Linked DNA regions of Homo sapiens: all the other regions are linked to region 1. Evidence: promoter capture Hi-C in 16 types of primary human blood cells and fetal thymus (Javierre and others, 2016). All regions are on one chromosome and are shown on one strand. Each heading gives the region's core, a stretch centred on a gene start or on the middle of the fragment in contact. The rest is flanking DNA. Distances are from core to core; before and after follow the strand shown.

Evidence for each region. The method cuts DNA at HindIII sites, captures the fragments that hold promoters and counts their contacts. A CHiCAGO score of 5 or more calls a contact.
Region 2: a fragment that was not itself captured here is called in contact with the fragment with the promoter of ERICH6-AS1 in region 1 in 5 of 17 cell types (erythroblasts, M0 macrophages, total CD8 T cells and 2 more); the score reaches 7.0 in erythroblasts.
Region 3: a fragment that was not itself captured here is called in contact with the fragment with the promoter of ERICH6-AS1 in region 1 in 1 of 17 cell types (fetal thymus); the score reaches 5.2 in fetal thymus.

Annotation. Positions count from the first base shown.
Region 1 is chr3:150,702,109-150,704,898 of GRCh38, reverse strand. ERICH6-AS1 (ERICH6 antisense RNA 1) reads right to left here and starts at 1,335. Exons shown (of 3, transcript NR_121675.1): 1 at 1,232-1,335. ERICH6 (glutamate rich 6) reads left to right here and starts at 979. Exons shown (of 14, transcript NM_152394.5): 1 at 979-1,403; 2 at 2,721-2,778. The coding sequence starts at 1,001. RefSeq lists enhancers at 784-873, 1,024-1,103. The HindIII fragment of the contact is 4,487 bases long and covers 1-2,790 here.
Region 2 is chr3:151,138,512-151,141,301 of GRCh38, reverse strand. All of the region lies in intron 5 of MED12L (mediator complex subunit 12L), which reads right to left. Among named protein-coding and RNA genes, the nearest start is that of MED12L, 54 kb to the right of the region's middle. The HindIII fragment of the contact is 4,237 bases long and covers 1-2,790 here.
Region 3 is chr3:150,411,667-150,414,456 of GRCh38, reverse strand. The region is part of intron 1 of TSC22D2 (TSC22 domain family member 2); the gene reads right to left. Among named protein-coding and RNA genes, the nearest start is that of TSC22D2, 4.8 kb to the right of the region's middle. The HindIII fragment of the contact is 1,139 bases long and covers 877-2,015 here.

The DNA of each region.
Region 1 (2,790 bases), core at 86-2,585:
CCTGGGTGACAGAGCGAGACTCCGTCTCAAAATAAATATAATATAATATAATATAATATAATATAATATAATATAATATAATATAATATATAAAATTGGCCAGGCGTGGTGACACACATTTGTTGTCCTTGCCACTTGGGAGACCGAGGTGGGAGGATCACTGGAGCCCAAGAGTTCAGGGCTGAAGTGAACCATGATGCCGCCACTGCACTCCAGCCTGGGTGACAGAGTGACATCCTGTCTCTCAAAAATAAAAAATGTATATATTTTACAAAAATGTAAGTAAATACAAAGTCCCAGAAGGACGCAGGTGGTACCTAGGTGGCCAGATGCTTCAGGACTTTTCTACTCCAGGATGGATAGATGGGCCAAGTAAGAAGCAGGACCCAGATCACAGCAAGGAGCAAAATTTATGGGACGCTAAAAATGTCGCCAATCAAGATTAATTAATATTAATCTAACAATATTTAAGATAACTAACATTTAAGGCAATTTTAATACGCTTATTAATATTTAAAGCTATTTTAAAAATATCCGCAAACGAGGGCCCAAGGGCTGGCGCCTGATTTTGTAAATAAAGTTTCACTGGACGTTCCAGCAAGCATCTGTCTACTCAATAACCAGACTCCAGCATCCGCAATACCAAATGGCACCGTGTGTGTCCGTCGCTAGAAGCCACTTCCTCCACCCAAGTTAAAAAAAAAAAAAAAGGCCCCAAATAAGCTGAGAGACGAAGAAAAGATCGTTTCTCCGCAGGCTGCCAGGGGTTTCAGAGACGCTGAAGAGCAGGGACAGAAAGAAGTCTGCGGTGGCCCCCACCGGCCCTCGGCACCCACATTCTATCCGGCTAACCAGCTCCTGCCGCTTTAAATCCGGGAGGCTCGGTGGCGCAGGGCAAGCAGTTGCCCGGGGAGACCAACGCACAACAGAGGCTCGCGCTCGCGAGAGCCGACCGGGGCCGCGGCCAAAGAGCTGGCTGTAATCCCGCCTCCCGCCAGCCATGGCCCACTTGCGCTCGCCTAGCGGCTTCGGAGACCCGGGGAAGAAGGACCAGAAGGAGTCAGAGGAGGAGTTAGAGGAGGAGGAGGAGGAGGAAGAGGTGGAGGAGGAGGAGGAAGAGGTGGAGGAGGAGGAGGAAGAGGTGGAGGAGGAGGAGGAGGAGGTGGTGGAGGAGGAGTTGGTGGGGGAAGAGCAGGAGTTGGAGGCCCCTGAGACGTTCAGCGAAGAGTACCTCTGGAAGGTCACGGACATCGGTGACTACGACGACGACTTCCCAGACGTGCGCCCCCGCTTAGCCAGCATCGTCAGCCCTAGCCTGACCTCTACGTTCGTGCCCAGCCAGAGCGCGACCAGCACTGAAACGCCGAGCGCAAGCCCACCCTCCAGCACCTCCTCGCATAAAAGTACCGCCCCCGACCCACCCCTTCCTCGAGGGTTTCTCGTCTCCAGGGGGCACCTGGTCCACCCACTCCTGGGTGGTGCCTTCGTCGACCTGCGCGTCGTGCCTGATTTCTAAATGCATGCACCATTCCACACACCTAATCTCTCTCACGCCCTTGTCAGAGACACTGAACCCTTGGCTGAGCTGTTGTGATGAGGCACGATTTAGGATATAGGCGAAACACCATAAAAGTTGAACTTGGGCATGGCTGTATGAAGTGCTTTTTTTTTTTTAGACAAGAGTCTCGCTCTGTCGCCCAGGCTGGAGTGCAGTGGCTGCAGCCTCGACCTCCTGGGCTCAAGCCTCCCACCGCAGCCTCTCGAGTAACTGGAACTACAGGCACACGCCACCACACCCAGCTAATCTGGCGTCTCACTATGTTGCCCAGGCTGCTGGGAGTGCTCATTTTTATAACATTTTTGCGTGCATTCACACCGTGACATCTCTCTCTCTCTCTCTCTCTGTTCCCCCTCCCCTCCCTCTTCCTCCCCTCCCTCTCCCCTCCCCCTCTCTTTCTCTCTCCCTCTCTCTCTCTCTCACAGACACACACACACACACACACACACACTCATATTATTTCCAGAGAAGTGCCTTAAGGGTGCTGTACTACTGAAACAGTCCTGCAAAAAAAAAAAACAACTCTCTTTTGTGTTTAACATCCTGTGCTGAAGCCACTCCAGTCACTTCCTTGAAAAAAGAAGCAGAGAAGTCTTCTAGAGTAGGCTTCTCAAGCTCTAGTGTTGACATTTTGGTCTGGATAATTCTTTGTTGGGGAGGATTGGGGACTGTCCTGTGAATTACAGGATATTTGGCAGCATCCCTGTCCTCTACCCGTGGCTGTGCTAGAAGCACACATCCTTGCGATGATCAAAAATGTCTCCAGGCCGGGCGCGGTGGCTCACGCCTGTGATCCCAGCACTTTGGGAGGCCTAGGCGGGCAGATCACGAGGTCGGGAGATCGAGACCATTCTGGCTAACATGGTGAAACCCCGTCTCTACTAAAAATACAAAAAATTAGCCGGGCGTGGCGGCGTGCGCCTGTAGTCCCAGCTACTTGGGAGGCTGAGGCAGGAGAATAGCGTGAACCCGGGAGGTGGAGCTTGCAGTGAGCCAAGATCGCGCCATTGCACTCCAGCCTAGGCGACAGAGCGAGACTCCGTCTCAAAAAAAAAAAAAAAAAAAAAAAAGTCTCCAGACATTGCCATGTGTTCCTGGGGGGGGTAGAATTGACCTTTTGATTTAGAGGGAATAGCTGATTTTTAAATGTTTCATTCAACAGGTTTCCCTAAAATATTTCAGACATTTAGGAAAGACATGTCTGAAATGAGTATAGATAGGTAAGAAAATGT
Region 2 (2,790 bases), core at 116-2,615, 440 kb before region 1:
GCCTGTAATCCCAGCACTTTTGGAGGTCAAAGCAGGTGGATCACGAGGTCAGGATTTCGAGACCAGCCTGGCCAACACAGTGAAACCCCGTCTCTACTAACAAAAAAAAAAAAACAAAAAAAACAAAAAAAAAAACGCCAGGCACGGTGGCTCACGCCTGTAATCCCAGCACTGTGGGAGGCCAAGGCAGGTGGATCACAAGGTCAGGAGATCGAGACCATCATGGCTAACATGGTGAAACCCCATCTCTACTAAAAATACAAAAACTTAGCTGGGCGTCGTGGCGGGTGCCTGTAGTCCCAGCTACTCGGGAGGCTGAGGCAGGAGAATGGCGTGAACCTGGGATGCGGAGTTTGCAGTGAGCCGAGATCGTGCCACTGCACTCCAGCCTGGGCAACAGAGCGAGACTCCCTCTCAAAAAACAAACAAACAAACAAACAAACAAACAAACAAAATTATCTGCGTGTGGAGGCACGTGCCTGTAATCGCAGCTACTCGGGAGGCTGAGGCAGGAGAATGACTTGAACCCGGGAGGCAGAGGTTGCAATGAGCCAAGACCAGGCCATTGCACTCCAGCCTGGGCGACAGAACAAGACTCTGTCTCAAAAAATAAATAATAAATAAATAAATTCAAAAACTATCATGGGCATACATTTTCTTTGATTTCACCAAAAAATTAATTAAACATAAATATACAACCACCACAACCACACACCAGCATTCTAACTTGGAAGAGGGTATAATATTTTTACTTTGGAAAAGCTGAAATATGTTTCCACAGGGCAACAATCGGGCACATAGAGTTACAGTGCAGCATATTAAACTTGATTAGAACTTTTTAAAGTTTCTGTAAATCAGCAAAGTATGATGGCAGTAGCCAGAGGCTGGTGGAGGGGGAGAAAGGGGAGTTGTTCAATGGGCAGTTTCAGTTTTGCAAGAGAAAAAAGTTCTACAAATCAGTTGTACAACAATGTGCATTGAGTTAATACTGCTGTACCATACACTTATTGTTGGTTACAATGGTAAATTTTATGTTATTTTACGTTAATAAAGGGTCTGTAAATAGGGAAAATTTGCATATTCAATTAACTAAAAAGCTACATACCTGGAAAAATATTAGAGGTCTTCCAATTTTTACAAAGAACATCTACTTCATTTAAGTTAAGGTCCCAAAAAGCAAGTAGTTAGCTTAGAGAAAAGTAAGCTCTTGCAATTTATCTAAGAATAACTAAATTGTAATGCTACTGGGTAAGATGGCATTCCTTAAACTTCCTCCAAATCTTTTTCATAAAACATTCTTACAGCAAGATATCTTCCAGGAAAAGTACCAATGACAACAAAAAATAGGCAGTAATAATTTGGGACTGCGATTAGGCTTAGCTAACTTTTGTTTATATGAAAGCTCCTCTTGTGCATGTCTTAAAGAGTCCAATAGTTCTATATGATTTATTGTGAACACAACAGCCTATTGTCCATAAACTCCTCAATTATTCTCCAAAAGCAAATTATTTTCAACTCTTTCATCTGTTGTATTTACCTCTACCTCTAAATAACATGCTTACAGTCCTACTTCCTGATTGTAAGCATTACCCACTGGCTTCCTACATGGAAGATGATGAACATTCAGCTCTCTTTCACCTCCCATCAAGACCTTGCTTACATATTTCTCCTATGCCTGTCCCGCCAATATTCTCCTCTCACAACTTGAGTAGGTCTAGTCCATGTTAATACTATGAAGGAAAACTTGGCAGAATCTAACAAAATGGAAAAATGCACTTACCAGGCATCAATAAGAATTCATGTTTAGCTCAAGAGATAACACAATCACATATAAAAATATTTATAAATATATGTACATACATGAGTTAGTCCACACACATGCATCTCCTTAATCTGTCAACTGAGAGGGCCTAGAAGCAGTGACACCCCAAGTAGCAATAAGCACTCTTTGTGCTCAACTCTTGGTTTCTAATACCACTCTCCTTTAAAGACAACCAGGGCTCCTTGGAGAAATGGCTCATTATAGGATTGGAACAGAAAATATACACAATGAACATGGAATGCACCTTCTAGTGCCAGAAAAGAAGAAAGTACTTAGAAAGACAAAAACAAAAGCAAACTAAGATGGGTATGTCAAATGGACACAGGACACAGCTGAAAGAGCTCTCAATGGACAAAGGTGGAACAAAATAGAGTATTATAAACCAAAAGATGAAGTAAACATCTATGAATCAATACTGATAGAAATGCTTGAATACATACATACATTAATGAATGAAAGAATAGTAGGTAGGTAGGCAGGTAGGTAGGTAGGTAGGTAGATAAGAGACAAATCACCCATGCAGAAGAATTTTAAATAAGTAGATACTCTGCCCTCAAGGAGGGGGATGGTTAACTCCCCACTTCTTAAGTGTGGACTGTCCATATTACTTCCTTCCAAAGAGTAAAGTGTGGAAAGGGATGGGAGGGAAATAACTTTACACTGTAAAACCTGGTAAGTGCTACCTCAGCCAGGTGATCAAGGTTAACATCAATAGTCATAAGTCATGGTGATAGCATGTACCCTTGATGTAACATGATGAGAATGACATTTGACTTCTGTAACCCTGGTCTAACCATAAGAAAAATATCAGACAAATTCCAACAGAAGATAACCCTACAATATACCTGACTAGTACTCCTCAAAACTGTCAAACATCACTGAAACTGAGAAAATGTCACAGCCAAGAGAAGCCTAGGGAGATATGAGAACTAAATGTAATATAATATCCTGAATAAGATCCTGAAATG
Region 3 (2,790 bases), core at 197-2,696, 290 kb after region 1:
TTGGTTGGCTATCTATGGAAAGTGATCTGTACTGTGTTCCTTTTCCAAAAGGGCCAGTAATATTTTGCACCTCCTCTCATTTACAGGAGACTGTTAAGTGTGTACGTAGTTTAAACAAGTTTTGTAAAGTTCACTATAAAAGTAGCTACATATTTAAGGACTGTATTTTCAACCATCACATCCACGAGTTTACACAAAATCAATCTGAAGAGTCTCAACAACTGACCATAAACCTTTCTAATGAAAATGGCCAGAAAGATAAACTTTATGGTAATTAATAATGTAGAGTCAATAGGCAATGCTAATTGAGAACTTTTTGCATATACAACCATCAGCCTTTTAAAGGTGTGATAATATTAAGATGTATTACTATAAGGCCCGGTTCTTTAATTATAAATGATCTCAAAATTAAGCCAATATAGAACTTTGCATTAGGTAATGGAACCAAAATCTCAAGATAAGAGTTTTCAATGTATCAACCTAAACCACCTCAATCTTTTTGTTAATTTCCCATTTTCCTTTCTTTTCTCAAAGAAATAGACTGTTTACTAAAGTCCTAATTTTTTTTTAAAAAAAGCATATATCTTATTTACAAATATTTCCTTAGGATCTGAAATTTGTCAAACTACTTGCAAAGTTTAAATCACAATTAGTCAAGACCTCTCACTCCAGTTGGTTTTATTTCAAATTTGAAAACATGCAGATTTTAAGGCGGCAACCCAAAATCACATTAAAATTAAAATTTTCAGTTAAGATAGTAGTCTCCTCAAAAGTACTCATCTCAGTAATTTAAACATATGCCTGGAAAACTGTTATTTAATTTCAAACACAAAATTTTAAAATACCCTGTTCTTTTTTTTTTTTTTAACCAAAGCTTTCTATTAAAAAAAAAAAACACAAAACAAAAAACCCAACTATTTCTACCTAATGGATTTATTCCTTCACCAGGTATGTTGGACCAGTGACAAAACAGTCAAATGTGTAAGATTACATCTTGGAAACTAGCATGTCAAGTTAAAAACCAATGAAAGACTGTAACAAAAATCAGAAATGAACATTGGTAAGCAATGTAGATTTTAAATGATTGGGGCAAGGGAGGGAAGTGTCATGTTTAAAATAGGACTGTACATACATCAAAACCCCTGCACTGAATTAACTGTTGCAATTGGTAAGAACACTGATACAGTAGTATCTGTAGTTCAACCATTCACAAATTTGGAAATCAGAGTTTTCAGATTACCAACTCTTAATACAGTAAGAGGAAAAAATAAATGCATTTTTGATGTCATACCCTAAAGAATACATTTCAGTTTCCATCTATCAACAGAAGTCTCTGCTTCATGCCTTATCATCGTACTAAAGTTCTGAGGAATCTAAGTATGGATGCTGTAAACTGAGAGAGGTGTGCACAGAAGGGAAAATGTAATCTGCATTCTCGGGTGGAGGGGTGTGTGTGTGTATAGAAAGCGGGGTAGCTCAGGAAACCAGTCATCATTTCTTGAAGAGATATGGGCAGTATACAGGAACAGAGGAAAGCAAAAGGTTATTTGCCAACTTATCAGGAAAAAATTGGCTTGTGGCAGCTAGAAAAGTGAAGATGCCTGTTGATTATTACCAAAGGTGAAAAAATAAACTCAATCTGTGTTACAGGTGTGTCCCTGTGTGTGACAATGGGAGCAACTATAAAAGTAGAGGGATTTTTCTGAGTGGCTTGTGGAGTCAGTTTACTTAGTAGTCCCACACACACAAAATTTCTCAATGACTAGCTAGCTGAGCTCACTTATGGACACGTGGTATTCTCTAAGCGTTCTCAAGTGAAGAAAGACTCCCCATAAGCAAGTCACCTACAAAAAAAGATGAACTTTAAATTACAAAAAGCAGAGAAGATGAATGAATTTCAGTCAGTGAGTATTTTTCAAACCAACAGAAGTATATAACAAAAATACAAGGCTAATTAGAAATGGGAGGTTAAGAAATGTGAAGGAACTCAGAAGAAACCATAGGAAGAGAAAGCTTTAACATACATGTCATTGTATTCTTCCACATACTAATTATTCTGGAAATCCATAATATTAGTTTGTATCTTTTAAAAACACCTAAAATTAGCCTCTCGCTAAACAAAAACCCCAGCAAAGAAATGTCTAACTGTGAAATTCCTGAAACTTTTTCTATAATTTTTAAATATAATTTTAAAACATTGCAACAAGTCAGCTTTTAAAATTTTGCAATATGTATGTCAAATTTACATGTGACATCTCCTCAAAACCACAAAAATCCTCACTAAACCATAACCAAACATCAGCTGTTGTGGCACTGGTGTAGCAATACACTAATTCTTATTTAGGCCATTAAAAAAAGCATCCCTAAATACAGGGAGCCAATTATTAACATTTACACTTTTATTATAAAATTACTCTTAATTTCAAGAACTATAGCTTTCACTACAGTTAAAGGATCGATCTCAACCTCCCTTTCCTATAATAAATAGACTGATGGAAAGTAAGAATATCTTTCCAGTACATTTTTTGCTTAACAACAAAAAAATAGTATCTTAGAGAAGTCCCTGGGAAGACTCGTGACCTTGTACCTCCTTTAATCAAAAGGCTGAACTAAGTATGATCTTCAAAGCCGGATTTGACATTTCACCATTATGTCTCCAGCCTTTCCAGATACACTGGAGAAGATTCCTTACATAGATTTTTTTTTTCACTAGAGGACCTTCTGGTTTTCCAGAAAGGAAAACTTGTAGTATTATTATGTCTCAGCCTCAAAACTCACACTGACAAATCT